2 separate regions of the Homo sapiens genome follow, and region 1 is linked to region 2. The links are contacts of gene promoters, found by promoter capture Hi-C in blood cells and fetal thymus (Javierre and others, 2016). All regions are on one chromosome and are shown on one strand. The core of a region is centred on a gene start or on the middle of the fragment in contact, and the rest is flanking DNA. Distances in the headings are between cores, read along the strand shown.

Region 1 (4,439 bases), core at 526-3,025, 3.4 Mb before region 2:
CAAGTCACAGATCTTATTATCTATTTATCAATCTATTTTCCTGAAAATAGACATGTCACAATTTACATCTATGGCTTTATTTTATTCTTTGATAGATACAGTAAGTACAAAAATAAACAAGCATTAGGAAGAAACAAGGATGTAAGAGATAAAATGGACAACCTAGTTCATTCTCTTTTCTAAAACTTTTATAACATGAATGTGGACTAAGTTTCAGGAATTTTATCTGGAAAACCTTAAAGGGATATTTTAGGTCTAACAATCTGACTGAAAGTTATGGTAAAAAGGTTAGAACTTAAATTACAAATGGGTCTCTGAGTCTCAATATTTGGTAGGAAATGTCTATCAAATATTGACAGATATTTATAGTTAAAATAGTATTTATAGTTAAAAATGACTAGTATTTATAATTAAAATATACTATATCTCTATATAATACTCATCACTTGAAGGAGATAATCAGTATTAATAAACATATCAGTCAACTATTATATTTCGATTTAATAAAAAAATCTGATCTCCCCACCTATAATAGCTCTTGTAAATTCTATTGCGAAAAACTAAAAAGTATTTCTCCAATTCCATAAATTGACAGAAGTCTTTTTTCCCCCATTCCATAAGCTGACAGAATATTTCTTAGTCCTGTTCATCTTTTTTTTTTTTTAACGAGATGTTAAAAAAGGCTTTGTTTTCCTATGTGAGTTTCTAGAATTAGCATTTAAGTACTAACCTGACTGGAAGCACTGGGATCTTCAGAAACTGAAGAAGGCATTTCGAAGGGAGCAGGCCATGAAGCCCCTTCCGAATCATTTGTCTGATCTGAACTGGACGATTCCTGCTGTTCTGCGGTGGATGAGACAGGCTGAGCGGCTCCATCACCATTGATACTGGCCAAACCAGAAATAAAAAAGGATTGCTGTTACTAAAGTTAACTTCATGCAACAGTCTACCCGTTTATAAAAACTACAATCTGTAATTAAGCATACATCTTGTAAAAAAGAAATATGAAACAAATGTTAACAGTATCACAGGGGCAAAACTTAAATTATAACTTCATTAAGCTTCACACTAAATTTTAGATCAGAATTCCCTTTTTCTCTTTAGAGATAAATAAGTAGCCAAGTACCTGTAATATAAAAACTTGGAAAGAATTGCCTTTTGATACCAGTGCTCTTTGCTCTTTTTCTTCCTCTGCCACTTCTGATCAATGAGTCTTTGATAAAACTCTTTCAACCATGTCCAGTCACCAGTCTGGATAACATGAGATACATATTATTAATACAACACACATAGTCGAAACAATGTTACCTAGTACTAGCTTACAGAAAAGGCTCCTATTATTTTTTGAATAGTTTCATAAACACATACTCATTAAAAACATATCTTTCTGGGTCAATTCATACCACCTTTCTTTTGTTTTTTGTTTCCTAAAGGAAACCCGTCTTCCTCCTCCTAAGCCAGGCTGGGAGAGGTGAGTCTTCTCTATAACATGTTCCTTAGCAGCTGCAGTAGTTCCCACTTTGCACACTATATTGAAATGATCTGTGTATGTGTTTATAACCCCAAACAATGAACTGCTGAGGAGCAAGGCCTGTGATTTGTTCACTGTCACATCCCCGTGCCTAGGCTCATACTCACATGATGAACTAAACGGTGGTCTTTTCAAAGGAAAAAAGCACTTATTTTAAATGTCATTTACCTCACCATAATTTAATTTTCTTTATCAAAGCACTGTAGTAATATTCTTTAAAGACTGACCATGAACTATTTCTTGCCAGCCCAAGAAAAGTACAGATATGGAGGGTAGTTCTTGAGAAACTGCAACAATGTTATTATGTTTTTCAAAAGTATCCATTCTCAACATGTGGGAAAAACAGTCCTTACCAACATACAATTTGAGAATCTAGGCTAAAGAGCATCAATTAATTCTAATAACTACAGCCATGTGTCATTTAACAATGGGGATATATTCTGAGAAGCGCGTCATTAGGTGATTTTGTCCTGGTGTGAACATCGCAGAGTGTTACTTATAGAAACCTGGATGGTACAGCCTACTCCCTACCTAGGTCATACGGTATAGCCTATTGCTCCCAGGCTACAAATCTGTACATGTGACTGAAGTATTTGTGTATCTGAACACTGCAAATACAGTAAAAATACAGTATATTATAATCTTATGGGACCACCGGTATATGCAGTCCATCGCTGACTGAAACGTCATTATGGGAACATGACTGTATTTATTCATAGGAACAGCTTCTAATATTTTTCACATTTTCCAGTAGCTGTGTTTCCTGAGAATCTGTTTAAGGGAGACGTTAAAGGATTCTTAAAAATATTAAACTAGTCCCTTAAATTTCACAGTTTTTTTCACAACTTTCTTCATTGGCTTCATCTTTTTTCTTGTAAAAAAGAATCTGGCTGTTGGAATCAATAAAATAATTTTCTTCACCATTCTCATTCTCTTCTTTTTTCTTCATTCAAGCTTTTCTATCTTCAGTGAAACTTTCAATTTCTCGATTGTTGAAGTACTCAACTACATTTCCACTTTGGCCATTCTCTGAAACAAAATCGTATTTCTAGTGCTCTTAAGCTGTTAATGTTTTGTTGGATTTTTTCACAAAAGCATTACCTGAGACGATCTCATAAAGAGTTCTTGAATATCTAGCTCATCTAGTAAGAGAGTCCTTCCTATGCGGTGTACTGCCATGCTCACGTGCGACTTGCTGTAGGGAATTTTCAGGAGTTTTTTTATGTTCTTAAAAAATTAAGAGAAAAAATAGTTTAGAAAGACTGTTTTAGTGTGATTTGGAATCTTTTAAATTTTAGCTTCATTCATTTTAAAGCATAATAAACCTTATTTCCTTAAGGTTATACAAATAGAACTTTAAACAAAAAGCTACATGCAAACACACAGAGGACGGAGCTTTCAAACCAGAATCACGTACACTTTATGAGTCACATTATGTTAGTGACAGTCAAACATTTATTTTTACATGATAGGATTTCTTAAAGTTAAGGGTGTATACGTCACACTGTTATGCTGACCCAGGCTTTTAGCATATCAGATCAAAGCCACTAAGGATCCAATAGATTTTACTAGAAATATCATTTGTAACTCAACTGGTAACATATACAGAATAATCCCAAACACTATTATCAGTTTCAATTACTATCATTAAAATATAACCATCAATATATTATTACCACTGCCAGTGTTTGGGGATTGATTATTCCTTCCTCTTTAAATACAAATGTGGTAAACAATGATACTTTAACAACAAAAAAGATACTCAATAATCAGGTAAGTTTTATCTTATTTCATCACTAATTTCTCAAGACTTGCACATTTATATTATGCAAAACACAGCATGATATAAAACACCTATCACAAAACACCTCCAAAATTACATTAAGCGACAAATAACACTTACTTCAGAGTCAGAGACAACATCCACATCATTTCCCACTGAATCAATAAAGTCATATGCCATGCCAAAGCTACCAAAGAGAAAAAAGGACACAGGTTATGAGGTCATGCTCATAATCATGCAAGTAGAGCTTAATAACAATACTGTAGCTCATTGCTTCTAGGATACACATTTTCCACATTTTAACAACTCTGAAACCAGGATGTGTATCACCATCACAGTTGGCAAGTTTTTTTTTCTTAGTGGTACTAAAATAATGGTGTGTCTTAAAGTCAATGGCATCTTAGATTTGATAAAACATGGTAATAATCATTAGAAGCATCCAGTAGGAAATATTTAGAATAAAAACAATTATTCTTTATTTTTGTAATCACAAAACTCAAAGTCTCCAAGGGAAAATAGTTCAAAACTTTATTCTTTTTAGGTGGAGAGATAAGAAAAACAGAAACAGAAACATTTATCAGGATTTTACTTTCTGAGATTGTGTTTCTAGTGATATACAATACCTCTTAAAAAAATACATGAAAAAAATGTACCTGACACCAATTCAGCCACAAAAGGAAATTAAAAAAAAATGTTAATTGAGCAGCCAACTGATGCCACGTACCACCTGAAGCACATCTATAGTCTATAAGCCTGAAAGGTACCCGACATCACCATGTTCCAACTACTAAATGGCAGAGTCAGGACACTTACCAAGGACTACCTAACAGCAAAGCATGCTTTGTGATTTACTGTATGCTTGAGCCAAATTATTTAGCTCTTCTCAGCTTCCGTTTTCTCAGGTGCAATATAATTAACAGTGCCTATCTCAAAGAGTTGTTGTGAGAATTAAATGAGATAAGCATATAAATACTTGCCACAGCATTTGTATAGAGTCAATATAATTATTCAAATTTCCTCACAACATTTAATTATGTTGACAAATCACAACTGATTAAGCCATTCTTTTAAAAAATGATATTTGGGTTATTCCCAACTTTTTGCTCCTATAAATGATGCTACAAA
Region 2 (4,354 bases), core at 1,493-3,992:
TATTGAAGTCATTTTATTGTATCATTGCAGATCTAAAACAAGATTTTTTAATCTTGAAATTTAAATTTTAATATTAACAAAAGTAAACTGCTCCAGCATGAGAAAAGTAATTATTTGCATATTACCTCAGCTCACAGTTGGAATCAAATAGGAAATACTTTAAGGCAGTTAGTTATATCAACCCAAAATTTTCTAATAAAAGCAATGTTACTATTGTCACAAATAATTACTACACTATATTCAGAAAACTATCTTCCCCATTCTCAAATAAGTTATTTAAACAATAATGACTTGACATCAAGCAATATGTCAATGTCAAAGTATGACTTAAATTATATTAATAAACTATTTATTAGATTTCATTCTGGGTTACAAATTATCACACAATTAAAATAACTTCGGGATTTGCAGCATGACTAATAATAATAAAGAACTTCCAGGCTTAAGTCAAAAAGCCACTTTGTTTAAATCTCCATTAAATGTTTTTTGTGGGGGGAAGTCCCCATAAAAATGTAAAATGTTTCCACCTTTCCCAAGTATCTTCCTAGGAGTGGTCAATATTGTCATATCCTATATGTTAGCAAACGATACTTGAATGACTTTTAAAGAAAAGAATCCAATGCTATTCTTAACATCCTTAAACACTTCTAAAAAGGTCCTTCCGGCTTATGAACTCATGGCAGTTTCCTCACAATTGTATACTTATCCTGTTTCACTGTCTCTCCTAGTCTATGACAAACTCAATTTTACACACCATCTTTCCTATTTTGTTACACTGCTAAAACTGGGGAGAAAAAAAGATACAAACCTGCTACTTTCCCCCCTCCCAAAGCGACAATGAAAATACTAATTAACAAGATAAAGATTGGAAGCTCTGCGCGCGCCCGCGCGGTGTGTATACACATATATTTATATTATATATATATATATATATATATATATATATATCTTCTTAATGTCACTAAATTCACAGCCATATATCTTGATACAGGTATACGCTACAAGAGAAAACTGTCAGTAGATACAGTGTAAGGTTTACGGCAGTATAAAATAAATTAACTACTTTATTAATTCAAATTCTGTCAAACTTAAATACTCTTTTTTAAATGTATCAGTACTCTAAAATGCAATTTTCCTTGGGAAAATTGGCCAAGATAAAAAATACTTTAACTCCACTAGGGGAAATATTTCTTTTGCCACAAGTGTGTCAACAGGAAAAATTAAGAGCATGAAAAGTAAACAGGTATTTTGATCAGAATAAATCTTATTATTTTAATATAACGGGTCTTCAAGTTCTTCAGATTGTGAAGAAAAACACAGTTTCACAAAACAATCACATAACTCTTACCCAAACTTTGCTGTAAATGGTTTCAGTGGCATCAAATTAACATAGAAAGTATGCAAGCTGAGTACTTGGGAAAATAAAGCAGATTGATCAGGAGTTCTAAGATGAAAGACAATGGTGTAAACCTCATAGTGCACTATTTGTTCCAGTCATTAAACACACAGGAAATAAGATTTTCTATTTAGAAAACTAACTCACAAGGGGCAATGACTTCATTAAAACAAAGAAAATCTTATTAAAACAACGATCAATTGTAAAATAAGAAAACCAGTACTGCAGAATTGGAAGGTGAAACAAACAGACGAGGAAAACGCAGAAACTGCCTGGATATTTATTTGTTCCTTGAACCTCTTCTTGTACTGCCCCCAGAGAGCAAAGGAGTTTCATTATTTATACGCCCAGACCACGGTAGATGCTCTGCGCGGGGGCACAGCCTCACCAGAATTCTACCAAAGGCGGTAAACACTATAAGCAACAGGACCGCTTTCATTATGACACACTTTCCCCTCTTTCCAGGAGGTCAATAGAAAGCATCTGAAACAAACCACAAACCACTCAAGACGGCCCCAAAGCTCTGCGGTTGGCAGCTGGCCTCGGCGTCGAAAGACCTGGGTCTGGTCGCCTCCCCGGTGCCACCTGCGTGACCTTGGGCAAGTCGCTTTCAACGCTGCCTCTGGCCACCTGCCCCGAAGGTGCGGAGGTAAATCGCGGACACCGCCCGACTTCAGGGCCCAGGGCGGAGCCGGCTTCGGCCTCGGCAAGTCCTGAAGCCAAAATGCATTAAACACCAGGAAAGGATGCCCGGGGACGCGCGCCCCGCGGGCACAGCCCTGGAGGGAGGCGCTCCGACCGGCGCCACCGGGAATCCCCGGGCAGCTGCGCGCACCGCGCCCCGAGCGGGATTTCTCGGGGGGCGGAGACGCCGAGGAGCTCGTCGGCCCCGCGACCGCCGCGGGCCTCCCGCCCTCCCCCGCCGGGCGCCGCTGAGGGCTGACGTCGGGAAAACAATCGGGGACCCACGGGAAGAAGACGCCGCCCCCTCCCGCTGCCCCAAGCCAGGGCAGGTGAGCCGGCCCGGCGGCCTCCAGGTGCTGTGGCGCGTGGCGCGGACGTGCGCAGAGGGGGCGCCGGCTCCGCACTCACCAGCACCCACCGCCCCTCTGCGGACGCCTCCCCGCTCGCCACAGCGGGAACCGCGCTCCAGCAGCCCGGCAGCCCCGCAGCCGCCGCCACCTCGCGCCTGGCCCCGTCCACCACCCCTGCTCCAGCGCGGCCGCGTTCTTCAAGCTAAACTTTACCGCGGCCTCGGCCCGGAGCACCCGCGCCGCCGCGGCCCCGGCTCCCACAGAGGCTCGGCTGCCCGGAGCGGCGTCCGCGACGGCCAGCCCGCGCACTGCGCACGCGTCCCCACGCTGCCTCAGCCCTCAGACGGCGGCTGAGATTCCGGAGCGGGCGCTCCCAGCCCGCAGAGACTACGAGTCCCGGCAGGCCCCGCGCGGGTCCCTGCGGCGTGGCGGGCCGAGTTTCTGGCGTCTTCCTGGTTCCAGCGGCGGCGGCCTCGGCGCGCCGGGGAGGCCTGCGCGCGGAGCTCTGGGCCGCCGCGCCGCGGTGCTTCCTGGTATTCGTAGTTTTTGACCACCACTGGGCTTGGCTCGGAGGTAGAACTCCGGGTTCTCTGATGTCATCGCCTAGAGCTGCGAGGAACAGGGATCTTTAAAAATAGGCTTCGTTAGTTTGCAGATAATTTGTTTGCAAGCTGTCCCATAATCGGTCCAAGTGTCACAAATTTACAGGCTGCGGTGTGACCTGGAGAAAAACGCTTTACAGCTCTGCGCGCCAATTTTTCGCTCTTCTCTCTCCCTGCAAATGTAGCTCCACTGCCTACTTACAATGGTGTTAATAGTACAGGAGGGTAAGAGAGACTTAAAGAAGGGTTAGTCGAAATTCTTTCAGCAACGGTGGAGCATAAATATGTATTCTGGTAAATATTCGTTGAGTGTTTAGCAATTTCTCGAGCACTTAACTGTGTGCCAAGTACGCGATAGGCAACCCGGCATTCATCTGAGAAAGAGACACTGTCACTGCCCTTATGGAGCCTGCAGCTTGGGGGAAACTCGTCCGCAAACTAGCAAAATCGTTCCAGATTTTAATAGAATGGCCAGACTGAGAAAGTTCAAGAGACAGTAGCGGTGGCGGGGACGGGGGGAGGCTCTTCAGAGAGAGTGGCAAGGCAAGTTCTCTGAGGATGTGATATCTGAGCTGAAACCTGAAGAATGAGAAATATTCAGACAGGCAAAGAACTGGGAAAGAATTACATGCCACGCCTTTCACAGCGCATGCCACTCTAGGCTCTTAATAAATATTTGTTCTTTTTGTGTGCTTCTTCCTTTCCTCTCCTTGCACAACCTTAGATCACATCCTATCCCCTTCAAACCCTTTAAAAAATCTTTATCAACATCTTTTAGAATATCCTTCCTATGTGAAAATGTACATGAAACAAATGTCCAGTGGTAAGACAAGCTGTACAGCTGCTAGGACAGAAGACACAACCCTGGTGACAGGCTGGAATCTATCTACTTTGCCACTTTCTTTATTTGCGAACTGGGTTAGAAGTCTGGGGGCTCAGCCTGGCCTCCTGACTTGTTTCTCTTCATGGGGCATCATACAGGATTTTGAGTTTGTCTTTATTAAAATCTTAGAGGAAGCCTACCTGTTATCTGAATCAGAGGTGTAGTGAAGAACAGCCCTAGATTTTCCTGTGTAGACTTACCTATGTGACTTTATGCAGAGAGTGACACTTTGCCCTTCTGACCCTCAGTGACCTCGACTGTAAATGAGTGTCATCCACCCTGCCTGCCTTGCAGAATGTTCTCAGAGTCTGATAAATTGATGGAGGTGAAAACATCTTGCAAACTGCATAGAACGGCTCTCTGACTGCCTCTTTGAGACTTAGCATTTTCAATTGCCTTTCATCCAACGTGATATTTTGGTTATCTTTTGAGAAACCTT

Evidence for each region. Contacts are between HindIII fragments. The CHiCAGO score rates a contact against its expected background, and 5 or more counts as called.
Region 1: a contact is called between a fragment that was not itself captured here and the fragment with the promoter of PLEKHA1 in region 2, in 1 of 17 cell types (total CD4 T cells). The highest score is 6.3, in total CD4 T cells.

Annotation. Positions count from the first base shown.
Region 1 is chr10:125,722,130-125,726,568 of GRCh38, reverse strand. EDRF1 (erythroid differentiation regulatory factor 1) reads right to left here. Exons shown (of 25, transcript NM_001202438.2): 3 at 3,435-3,501; 4 at 2,633-2,758; 5 at 1,127-1,251; 6 at 731-887. Among named protein-coding and RNA genes, the nearest start is that of EDRF1, 4.6 kb to the right of the region's middle. The HindIII fragment of the contact is 1,424 bases long and covers 1,064-2,487 here.
Region 2 is chr10:122,373,096-122,377,449 of GRCh38, reverse strand. It overlaps PLEKHA1 (pleckstrin homology domain containing A1), which reads right to left and starts at 2,742. Exons shown (of 12, transcript NM_001001974.4): 1 at 2,644-2,742. RefSeq lists silencers at 2,135-2,334, 2,345-2,504, 2,525-2,594, 2,635-2,744, 2,885-3,034. The HindIII fragment of the contact is 9,419 bases long and covers 1-4,354 here.